Regions from separate parts of the Homo sapiens genome. Here all the other regions are linked to region 4. Evidence: promoter capture Hi-C in 16 types of primary human blood cells and fetal thymus (Javierre and others, 2016). All regions are on one chromosome and are shown on one strand. The core of a region is centred on a gene start or on the middle of the fragment in contact, and the rest is flanking DNA. Distances in the headings are between cores, read along the strand shown.

Region 1 (2,760 bases), core at 169-2,668, 440 kb before region 4:
CTGGACAGCATGGACAACATGACCATTTCTTACCTGTCATCATGGCCACACAGATAAAAGTCCTCATCGGCCATGCATTTGTCACAAGCCACCCTGGCAATGGCCACTCCAGCCACCTGAGTCACACAGCCTGAACATGGGGAGGGTTGGCCCTCCAAAGAAAACCAGAAGCTCTTTTTTTTTTTTTTTTTGAGATGGAGTCTTGCTCTGTCACCCAGGCTGGAGTACGGTGGCGCAATGTCAGCTCACTGCAACCTCTGCCTCCCGGGTTCAAGCAATTCTCCTGCCTCAGCCTCCCGAGTAGCTGGGATTACAGGCAAGCACCATCACACCCGGCTAATTTTTTGTACTTTTAGTAGAGACGGGGTTTCACCATGTTGGCTAGGTTGGTTTCAGACTCCTGATCTCAAGTGATCTGCCTGCCTCAGCCTCCCAGAGTGTTGGGATTACAGGCATGAGCCACCGCACCCTGCCCAGAAGCTCTTATAAGATGGGGGTCCTCTCCACCGGGTCCTGACCACTCCCCTGCTTACTTCCCCAGCAAACTGGATGAGGATTACCTGTACATGGCCTATGCTGATATCATGGCAAAGGTGAGGCCCTACCCCCCTCTTCTGGGGCAGATTTCCCTCTCCCCACCTGCAGTGCTTGTCCACAAAAAGGGCTGGGGCGGGATGGAGGGGTCTGCTTTGTTCATCCCTTAACTGATGCCCCCTCCCCAGAGCTGCCACCTGGAGGAGGGAGGGGAGAACGGTGAAGCTGAAGAGGAGGTTGAGGTCTCCTTTGAGGTAGGTGGGCTCAGGAGGTCCTGGAGGGAAGGGATGGGGGACCCTGACTGCAGTCATCTCCCATTCATTCAGCATGTGTTCACAGAGCAAAGCTCTGGGGACACAGCAGTGACCAAGTCAGTCCACTGGGGAGACAGATACACCCGCCAAACTAACACCACGGAGTGTACACCATGGTCATGGGGGAAGCTCAGGCAGAGGGGTCAGGGCTGGAATTGGGGAGGCTCAGGCAGAGGGGTCAGGGCTGGGATTGAGGAGGCTCAGGCAGAGGGGTCAGGGTTGGGATGATGGGGATACAGGCAGAGGGGTCAGGGCCAAGATGGGGGAACCTCAGGGGGATAAAGCAGCCCAAACAAGGTGCCTGACCCAGCCTGCAGGAAAATGTATCAGGGAGGGCTTCTCGGAGGAGGGGACTTCTGAGCAGAAGGATAAAAGGAGCCTGCCAGTTGAAGAAAAAGAGAAAAATGTTCTACGTAGGGAGAATAGTATATGCCAAGGCCAGGCAGCAAGAAAGAGCTAGTAAACATGCAATTCACCGATCCATTCATTCATTGAGACAGTTAGCAAGCATTTACTTCATAGTTTTCTTCACTGTTTCTGTGCCAGAGTCCCTTCTGGCATCTGGTGAAGACTTTCTCAGGATCATGTTTTTAAATGTATAAAATGAATTCATAGCAGAGGAAACAAGTATTGAATAGCTATCAAAATATTTTAAAAATGAATTTGTGATCCAGTAATACTTGTACATTGTTAATCTATCAAATAAGATCTAAGGCTGGGCGCAGTGGCTCACACTTGTAATTCCAGCACTTTGGGAGGCCAAGGCGGGTGGATCACCTGAGGCCAGGAGTTCAAGACCAGCCTGGCCAACATGGTGAAACCCCATCTCTACTAAAAATACAAAAATGAGCTGGGCATGGTGGCAGGCACCTGTAATCCCAGCTACTCAGGAGGTTGAGGCAGGAGAATCGCTTGAACCCGCGAGGTGGAAGTTGCAGTGAGCCGAGATCACGCCATTGCACTCCAGCCTGGGCGAGACTCCATCTCAAAAAAAAAAAAAAAAGATCTAGCAGTAGATCCAACAGCTACTATAATTGAGAAGTAGTGATGAACATAACTGATATTTAAAGACATCTTTGAGCCATTGTGAGTGAGTCTCTCTTCCTGGACCAAAAGAGCAGAATTTGAATAGGAAATGGTTCTAATTCTGCAACAATAATGTGATATGGAATATACAGCAATAATAATGTGATATGGAACCATCTGTAATTTTTTTTTTTTTTTTTTTTGAGACAGAGTCTCGCTGTGTCGCCCAGGCTGGATGGAGTGCAGTGGCGTGATCTCAGCTCACTGCAACCTCCACCTCCCGGGTTCAAGCAATTCTCCTGCCTCAGCCTCCCAAGTAGCTAGGACTACAGGCTCATGCCACCACGCCTGGCTAATTTTTTGTATTTTTAGTAGAGGCGGGGTTTCACTGTGTTAGCCAGGATAGTCTTGACCTCTTGACCTCGTGATCTCCCTGCCTCGGCCTCCCAAAGTGCTGGGATTACAGATGTGAGCCACCTTGCCCAGCCACATCTGTGATTTTTATTGGTGACAAAGCCACAGGTTCTGCTAATATCGCTGTGATTTATGGCTTCATCCATATAGGAAGGAAATGCTTCATTTCTGTTAGAGGGCGGAAAACATAAAAATGTAACTTTTCATCATCCAAGTTCACAGATGGCCTGGAGGCCCATGGGCCCAGGTTAAGACTGCTGCATGCCCAGCTCTGATTTATGTAGATCTTGCCTAATGCCTAGCCCCGTGCTAGGTACAGGAGATACATCGAGGGTGTGAGCCCCAGGGGATGGAGGGAGCTCATGGTTGAAGGAGTGAGTTGTGGATGTGGCTGGAACAGGGAGGGCAGAAGTGAGAATGTGAGGGGGAAAGGCTGGGCTGGAAAGCCTGGACTTGCCTTCATGTGTCTGCC
Region 2 (2,909 bases), core at 329-2,828, 290 kb after region 4:
AGGTTTGAACCCCAGACCCTTCATCTCCAAGACCCATGCTCTTCACCACTGCCTGAACTTCCCTAAGAAAGACGGCACCCACGTGGTGTCCTTCAAGTCCTTCGTCACACCTCAGTTCTTGAGCAGAGCCTCATATTCCTGAGTCCTTCCTTGCCTGGGCAATTAAGAAATATTGGCCTTGGCTGGGCTCAGAGGCTCATGCCTGTAATCCCAGCACTTTGGGAGGACGAGGAAGGTGGATCATGAGGTCAGGAGTTCAAGACTAGCCTGGCCAGCATGGTGAAACCCTGTCTCTACTAAAAATACAGAAATTAGCTGGGCATGGTGGCACATGCCTGTAATCCAAGCTACTCAAGAGGCTGAGGCAGGAGAATCACTTGAACCCAGGAGGCAGAGGTTGCAGTGAGCTGAGATGGTGCCTCTGCACTCCAGCCTGGGCAACAGAGCGAGACTCCATCTCTCTTGCTCACTCACTCTCTCTCATGCTCTCTCTCTCTCTCTCTCTCTCTCTCTCTCTCTATATATATATATATATATATATATACACACACATATATGCCTCTGGCCGGGCGCGGTGGCTCACGCCTATAATCCCAGAACTTTGGGAGGCCGAAGAAGGCAGATCACGAGGTCAGGAGTTCAAGACCAACCTGGCCAATATGGCAAAACCCCGTCTCTACTAAAAATACAAAAATTAGTTGGGCGTGGTGGTGCATGCCTATAGTCCTTTCTACTCGGGAGGCTGAAGCAGAAGAATCCCTTGAACCAAGGAGGTGGAGGTTGCAGTGAGTCGAGATCACGCTGCTGCACTCCAGCCTGGGCTACAGAGCAAGACTCCATCTCAAAAAAAAAAGAAAAAAGAAAGAAAGAAAGAAATCATGGCCTCTGGGCACAGTGGCTCATGCCTGCAACCCCAGCAATTTGGGAGGCCAAGACAGACAGATCACTTGACGTCAAGAGTTCGAGACCAGCCTGGCCAATTGGTGAACTGTCATCTCTACTAAAACCATAAAAATTAGCTGGGAATGGTGGCACAAATCTGTAATCTCAGCTACTTGGGAGGCTAAGGCAAGAGAATCGCTTGAACCCAGGAGGTGGAGGTTGCAGTTAGTCAAGATTTTGCACTGCACTCCAGCCTGGGTGACCGAACAAGACCCTGTCTCAAAATATATATATATATATATGCCAGGAGGGGTGGCTCAGGCCTGTAATCTCAGCACTTTAATAGGCTGGGTGAGGAGGATGGCTTGAGCCCAGGAGTTTGAGGCTGCAGTGAGCTGTGATCATGCCATTGCACTCCAGTGACAGAGTGAGACCCTGTCTTAAACAACAACAAAACCAGAGCAGGTGGAATCCTCCTGGGAACATACCTTCCTGTAGGTTACCCCTGAGTCTCCATCAGTTTCTCTTTCCCTCCAGCTGCTCATCTGGCTCACTAGCCCTGCCCTGCTCTGGGCTTTCCCAGCCTGGGGCTCCCCTGGTGGCCGGTGTCTTACCTGAGGCTGTGTTTTCACTTTTCCTACATCAGCTGGGACTGCCCTTCTGTCAGGGATAAAAGCTGCCCCATGGAGCTCAGGCAGGAATTACATCCCAGACAGAGCTCAAAACTGACAGAAAGAGTCAAAGCCAGGACACAGTCTGAGATCCAGAAGAGGGGACTGAAAAGAACAGAGACTCCAGACAAGACCCAAACAGACCCTGGGTGACAGCCTCAGAGTGTTTCTTCTGCTGACAAAGACCAGAGATCAGGAATGAAACTAGGTGAGTCCCACATCTCTGTCCGTGCTCAGCTCCTGCAGCCCCTGCCCTCAGTGGGCAGCCTCTCCATCCCCTCAGCTCCCTTTCTCTCTGTGACACAGACATGACTGGGGACTGCACGCCAGTGCTGGTGCTGATGGCCGCAGTGCTGACCGTGACTGGAGCAGTTCCTGTCGCCAGGCTCCACGGGGCTCTCCCGGATGCAAGGGGCTGCCACATAGCCCAGTTCAAGTCCCTGTCTCCACAGGAGCTGCAGGCCTTTAAGAGGGCCAAAGATGCCTTAGTGAGTCTCCCCCTGCCCTCCTGCCATGGACTAGCCTCCACCCCCACTCCAAGCGTCACCATGCTTTCCCACTCCCAGCTTCCTTCACTGGGCTAGCCTCCACCCTCCCTGCAGTGGGCTATCTCATGCTCCTACTGTAGGGACTGACTCATGTTTTCCTGTAGAAGAGGGTCCTCTACCATCCTCCCAGCAGTTAACCTCCCCTATCCTGTTGTCAGCCATCCTCCAATCCCACCAGGATGGTCTAACCTCCACCCCTCCTGCTGGGGCTAACCTGTGCCTTTGCTGTCTAGGAAGAGTCGCTTCTGCTGAAGGACTGCAGGTGCCACTCCCGCCTCTTCCCCAGGACCTGGGACCTGAGGCAGCTGCAGGTGAGAGGGGGAGTCAGGCCCACCCCTGCTCTCCCAGCCCCACTCACCTGGCTCTGTAGTGGCCCCTTCACCGTCTCTTTCTCCCTTGTCTCTCTCTCTTCTCCTCACACCTGCTCTCCCTTCCCTCCGCTCCCACCTGACCACACTGGCTGTGCCCTCTCCCCTGTGCCTGTCACCTTCACTTGTTCCTCTCTATCCTGCTCCCCAACCTGTTCCCCTCACCTCCCCCCTCACCTGCTCTTTCTCACCTCTCCTCAGGTGAGGGAGCGCCCCATGGCTTTGGAGGCTGAGCTGGCCCTGACGCTGAAGGTTCTGGAGGCCACCGCTGACACTGACCCAGCCCTGGTGGACGTCTTGGACCAGCCCCTTCACACCCTGCACCATATCCTCTCCCAGTTCCGGGCCTGTGTGAGTCGTTGGGGCCTGGGCACCCAGGTCTGTGAGCTCTGAGCAGCGTCCTTCCCCTTGCCAAGGCCCCGGCTCACACACCGCCCTCC
Region 3 (2,700 bases), core at 97-2,596, 500 kb before region 4:
GACTGACCACTAGTTCCCCTCCTTGTGTCACCAGTACTATTACTCCGTGAGGGTCTTTGCTGGACAGGAGCCCAGCTGCGTGTGGGCGGGCTGGGTCACCCCTGACTACCATCAGCACGACATGAGCTTCGACCTCAGCAAGGTCCGGGTCGTGACGGTGACCATGGGGGATGAACAAGGCAACGTCCACAGCAGGTGCCGGGGCTGGGGGGAGGTGGGAGGTGCAGGGTGGGGAGGGCAGGAGGCAGTCAGAGCTCCCGACACCAGCTCTGTGGCTGCCTGGTTGTGGGACCTAGGAACTTTCTGGAGCGGGAGGATTCTCTGGGGCACTGGGCACCCAGCTCGGAAGCTTCCCTCCTCCTCTTTTTCCTCCTCTCTTCCTGCCCTGGTATTTTTCTTCTCCTCCTCCTCCTCTTTATGCATTTCTCCTATTCCATTTTCTCCTTTTCCTTCTCATCCTGTTTCATCTCACCCTTCTCCTTCTCTGTCATCTCATTCTCTCTCCTCCTGCTTCCCTTGCTTTCCCTCCTTTCAGACCCCCACCCCCATCCTGACTCCCCACTGCGCCAGCTGCTAGGAATCCCAGCTCCGAAGAGCTCAGTGTCCGGGGCGAGGGGTTTCAGCTCTCAGGTCTGCAGGCGGTGGGTGTTTGGGGATGGGACTCTGAGGTTGTGTGTTTCCGGGAGCTTGGGGAAGGGGGTGTCCAGGGTCCAGAGCTACTCACATGAGGAGTGCAGTGACCGCTTCTGTCTCCTGCAGCCTCAAGTGTAGCAACTGCTACATGGTGTGGGGCGGAGACTTTGTGAGTCCCGGGCAGCAGGGCCGGATCAGCCACACGGACCTTGTCATTGGGTGCCTGGTGGACTTGGCCACTGGCTTAATGACCTTTACAGCCAATGGCAAAGAGAGCAACACCTTTTTCCAGGTGAGTCCAGGCCACAGCAATTTAGCGAGAGCATCATGTCCCAGCATCCCAGGACAGCTCTTATAGATGTCCCCTGAGGCCAGACCTCAGAGATGGAACAAAAACAGCTCCTAGGCTGTCCTCAAGAGGTCGCTGGGAGACCACCTTGTTGAAACTTCCATGAAACTAAGGCCCAGACTGGAGGAGATACAGAATCTCACTCTGTTGCCCAGACTGGAGTGCAATGGGACGATCTTGGCTCACTGCAACCTTCGCCTCCTGGGTTAGAGGGATTCTCCTGCCTCAGCCTCCTGAGTAGCTGGGATTACAGGCGAGCACCACAACAGCCGGCTAAGTTTTATGTTTTTAGTAGAGACGAGGTTTCACTGTGTTGGCCAGGCTGGTCTCAAATTCCTGACCTCAAGTGGTCCACCCACCTCGGCCTCCCAAAGTGCTGGGATTACAGGCGTGAGCCACCACACCCAGCCAGAGTCCAGCCTTGACCTTGGAAAGAGGTTTCTGTTCCCTCTTGAGCTGGGTGACACCAGTCACCAACTTCTCTCCAACCAGGGAACACGCTAGGATGGGCCAGAATCCTAAGGTGGCCTTTTCCTTTTCAACATTTTATTCTGAAAAATTTCAATCATACAGCAAAATTGAAGGAGCTATGTAGATAACACCCTGTACCCACCACCTGGAATCTACTATCAATGTTGTAGATATTGGCTTTATCACATATTCACCTACCTGTCCATTAATCTAAGGTGGGTTTGTACAACTTTATTTTAATTTTTTGGCATCCATTGTTGGTTATGAAATTTTATTGCATTTTATTTTCTTTATTTTGAGACAGGGCCTCACTCTGTCCCCCAGGCTGGAGTGCAGTGGTGTGATCACAGCTGACTGCAGCCTCAACTTCCCAGGCTCAAGCAATCCTTCTGTCTCAGCTTCCTAAGTAGCTGGGACTATAGGCATGCACCACCTTGACTAGCTGATTTTTTGTGTGTATTGTTTGTAGAGATGGGTTTTCCTCATATTGTCCAGGCTGGTCTCTCGCTTCTGGGCTCAAGCGATCTCCCCACCTTGGCCTCCCAAAATGCTGGGATTACAGGCTTGAGTCACTGTGCCTGGCTTATTTTTTATTTTTATTTTTTGAGACAGGGTTTCGCTCTGTTACCCAGGCTGGAGTGCCATGGTGAGATCACAGCTCACTGCAGCCACAACCTTCCTGGACTCAAGCGATCCTCCCACTTCAGCCTCTTGAATAGTTGAGAACACAGGCACGTGCCACCATGCCCAGCTAATTTTTTTTGTATTTATTGTGCAGACGGGGTCTCACTATGTTGCCCAGGCTGGTCTCAAACTCCTGGTCTCAAGCAATCCTTCTGCCTCAGCCTCCCAAAGTGCTGGGATTGCAGGCGTGAGCCACTGCTCCTGGCTAAAGCTTTATGTTAAATGGAGAATTAAAAACGTATACAAGAATGGAATAGTATAATGAACTGCCATGCCCCTGTCACACAGCTTCAACTGTCACCCACTCACAGCCAATCTTGTTTCATCTTTTTTGTCTGTTTGTTTTTTGAGAGAGGGTCTCCCTCTGTCACCCAGGCTGGAGTGCAGTGGCGCAATCTCGACTCATTGCAACCTCTGCCTCCCAGGTTCAAGTGATCCTCCCACCTCAGCCTCCTGAGTAGCTGGGACTACAGGTATGCACCACCATGCCTGGCTAATTTTTTTTAGTTTTAGTGGAGACAGGATCTTGCTATGTTGCCCAGGCTGGTCTCAAACTCTTGGGC
Region 4 (2,700 bases), core at 47-2,546:
CTAGGTATATTTAATGGAACAATAAATACAAGTTAAAAAAATTATTTTATGTTAGAAAAGTAGCCAATAGAGAAGCCGAAAGTAATGTCCTGACTATACAGGGAGGTGATTATATAGGGAGGAGGAAAACCACGGAGATGATCAAAGTTGTCTCCTATTTTTAGCAAGGGATCCATGGACGCGTTGTCTAAAAGTTGATGAAATAAGAAATAACAATCCAAAAATATGCTGTAAAGATTTGGAAATAGATACCAGAGGAATAAAAAGTGGAAAAAGTTAAAAACGAGGCACCAGCGATCACGAGTTACTTCTTGCCATTTTTGAAAAGTAATGTAGTTAACAAAAAAATGTATTTGGCCGACAGGGGTTGGGGGCGGTGGTGAGGGAGAGGTTGTTGTTTAAAGGCGTGTTGTTTTCCATGCAAAGCTCTGTCCTGTCCTACGTGTCTGAGTGTCGTGTATTACTGGAACATTTTTAAAGAAGTATTATTTATTTTACAACTAGACTCCCATAATATTTGTCTTTCAAAATATGGAGTAAATAGACGCTGTCTAAAGTTGAAGAGGCAGTATACAGAGCTTTCGAACATATCACTGAACATTGCAAAAGTAACTTGGCAGAACAAAATTTAAATTGAGGGTTGGGGCCGCAGCGAAACACATAATGTGCCCAAGTTGCTAAATCGAGAAACCGCCCTCCAAGGCTTCTGATTCACAGATTCTGCGAAGGGACTGACGGCCAGAAGACAGAAAATCCAGCAACGGTAAAAAGCGGCCTGGCCTTCCCCGGGCTGTTGCGCCCACGTGTTGGTTTGCAGCGTTTGGCAGGGGTTTTGGATGGTGGCCTCCGCGGACGAGCGCAGGGATGGAGAGGCCTGGGCGTTCGAACACCCACGTTCAAAGCAAAGCCCTTCCAGATTTAGGGCTTTCTAACGTGCATTTGTATAACTTTGGGTTTAAAGGAGCCTCAGGCCGAGGGAGGGCCCGGGAAAGCGACGCTGCGGGTTATGGGACTCCCAGGGACCCGCCCCTCCGGGCAGGGCCTGGCGCGGGAATCCTTCCCGGGGCGCCCCAGCTGTGGGCGAGAACGGGACTGACGCTTGGGTCCCGACCTGGGTCCCCTACCTGTCCCGGCGCTCACCTGGCGGGCTGCTCGGAGGCGGCAGCGGCGGGCTAAGCTTCCCTTTCCCACTTTGTTCTGGGAGGCAGTCGAGGGGCTCCCCGTGATCGGCGTGGCCCAGGGGGCCCCGGGACCGGCGGTCTGGGCGGTCGGTCCTCTCCCGGGGCGTGGCGGCTGCAGCCCGGCGCCGGGGGCGGCGACTCTGAGATCCAGCGGGCGGGGGCGGGAGGCCGCCCCTCCTCCGGCTGCGGGGCCCAGCGGGAGCGAGGGCGGGCGGGCGGGGGAGCTTGGAGGGCTGCGTGCAGCGAGGGGGAGGCCCAGTTGCCGCGAGGCCAGCGGGGAGCGGGGCCAGCCCCGCGCCCCTAGGATCCGGGGCCCACCCCTGGGAGAGCCACCTCCTCTGGGTGTGCGAGTTCCACATCCCCAAGACGCCCCCGCGGGGGGACTGGTCCTAGCTCCCCACCCCCACCCAAATTCCGTTTCCTTCTGGTCCTGGCCTCCTGCTTGCGGCCGTCTCCACCCCTCACATCCATGGGATCCTGCACAGGTCCACGGTTGGTAAACCGCTTAGCTGTGAGCCCGACCCAGGGCCTGATTCGAAACACTTGGATCAAAGTCCCTGGCCACAGGGATTTTCTTGTATTTACGTTGCTTCCCAGGGCCAGATTCTCAGAAGCCCGGGGCTGATCTTAAATTAAATCCCTTCACCACACGCACTCTCTGTGGCAATGACAAACCTGTACCCTTCCACCTTAGGACTCCCCTGTCCTCCCCATCCCCCCAGCTATAGACAACTGAATTAATCCGGAGGTTCAGTTTCGGTCAGGCTGGGGCCGCGACCCATTTTCTCCCTTTACCTCTGCCCTTGGGTCTTTGCAGTCCCTTCTGATGGCCCTAGATTGCACCAGGGACCTCAAGGTGACTGATCTCAGACACCCCAGAGCTAGTTTTCTGGAAGCCAGGCCTCCCCCACGCTGGTAAATCATTCTCCAGGCCCACTGGCTCATATCTGCCACTGTGCTAAATGCTTTGTATGCATGACCTCCTCATGGACGCCTCTCCCGAGAAACTGAAGTCCAGAGATACCTGGTCTGTTGCACGTAGTCCAAGTCGCTAGCTTGGAGGGGTCACACAGCCAGAGAGCCTGGATTCCCTAAAGCCCCTTCCCCTAGAAACCTCAGCCAGGCCCCACAGCGCCATCGTGAGGACGGCGTGAGACTGCGTGTGCAGCGCGGAGCACAGTGCTGGACTCAGAGCCAACGCTAATTTGACTACTATTACATTATTTGTAACAACCGCCTTTGAAAGCATTTTCTGCTGTGGGTTGTAAAATTACTGTATTATTGGTAGAGTTTTTAGCACAGATCCACACGCAGTTCCTTATGTGAAAGGCGTAGGCCTAGGTTTGTTTTGCATTCCGGATTTTGGGGGGTTTATTTATTTTATTTTAGTTTTTTGAGACGGAGTCTCGCTCTGTTGCCCAGGCTGGAGTGCAGTGGCTAGATCTTGGCTCACTGCAAGCTCCACCTCCCGGGCTCAAGCAATTCTTGTGCCTCAGCCTCCCGAGTAGCTGGGATTACA

The links. The method cuts DNA at HindIII sites, captures the fragments that hold promoters and counts their contacts. A CHiCAGO score of 5 or more calls a contact.
Region 1: a contact is called between a fragment that was not itself captured here and the fragment with the promoter of FBXO17 in region 4, in 1 of 17 cell types (naive B cells). The highest score is 5.7, in naive B cells.
Region 2: a contact is called between the fragment with the promoter of IFNL2 here and the fragment with the promoter of FBXO17 in region 4, in 9 of 17 cell types (erythroblasts, M0 macrophages, activated CD4 T cells and 6 more). The highest score is 9.0, in erythroblasts.
Region 3: a contact is called between a fragment that was not itself captured here and the fragment with the promoter of FBXO17 in region 4, in 1 of 17 cell types (erythroblasts). The highest score is 6.1, in erythroblasts.

The regions. Positions count from the first base shown.
Region 1 is chr19:38,531,949-38,534,708 of GRCh38, forward strand. RYR1 (ryanodine receptor 1) reads left to right here. Exons shown (of 106, transcript NM_000540.3): 77 at 542-593; 78 at 723-788. Among named protein-coding and RNA genes, the nearest start is that of MAP4K1-AS1, 63 kb to the right of the region's middle. The HindIII fragment of the contact is 7,271 bases long and covers 1-2,760 here.
Region 2 is chr19:39,266,818-39,269,726 of GRCh38, forward strand. IFNL2 (interferon lambda 2) reads left to right here and starts at 1,579. Exons shown (of 6, transcript NM_172138.2): 1 at 1,579-1,761; 2 at 1,860-2,041; 3 at 2,335-2,412; 4 at 2,671-2,820. The coding sequence starts at 1,752. The HindIII fragment of the contact is 23,103 bases long and covers 1-2,909 here.
Region 3 is chr19:38,477,676-38,480,375 of GRCh38, forward strand. It overlaps RYR1 (ryanodine receptor 1), which reads left to right. Exons shown (of 106, transcript NM_000540.3): 30 at 35-195; 31 at 760-925. Among named protein-coding and RNA genes, the nearest start is that of RYR1, 45 kb to the left of the region's middle. RefSeq lists a silencer at 1,022-1,365. The HindIII fragment of the contact is 1,999 bases long and covers 348-2,346 here.
Region 4 is chr19:38,974,446-38,977,145 of GRCh38, forward strand. FBXO17 (F-box protein 17) reads right to left here and starts at 1,297. Exons shown (of 6, transcript NM_024907.7): 1 at 1,141-1,297. The HindIII fragment of the contact is 5,979 bases long and covers 1,176-2,700 here.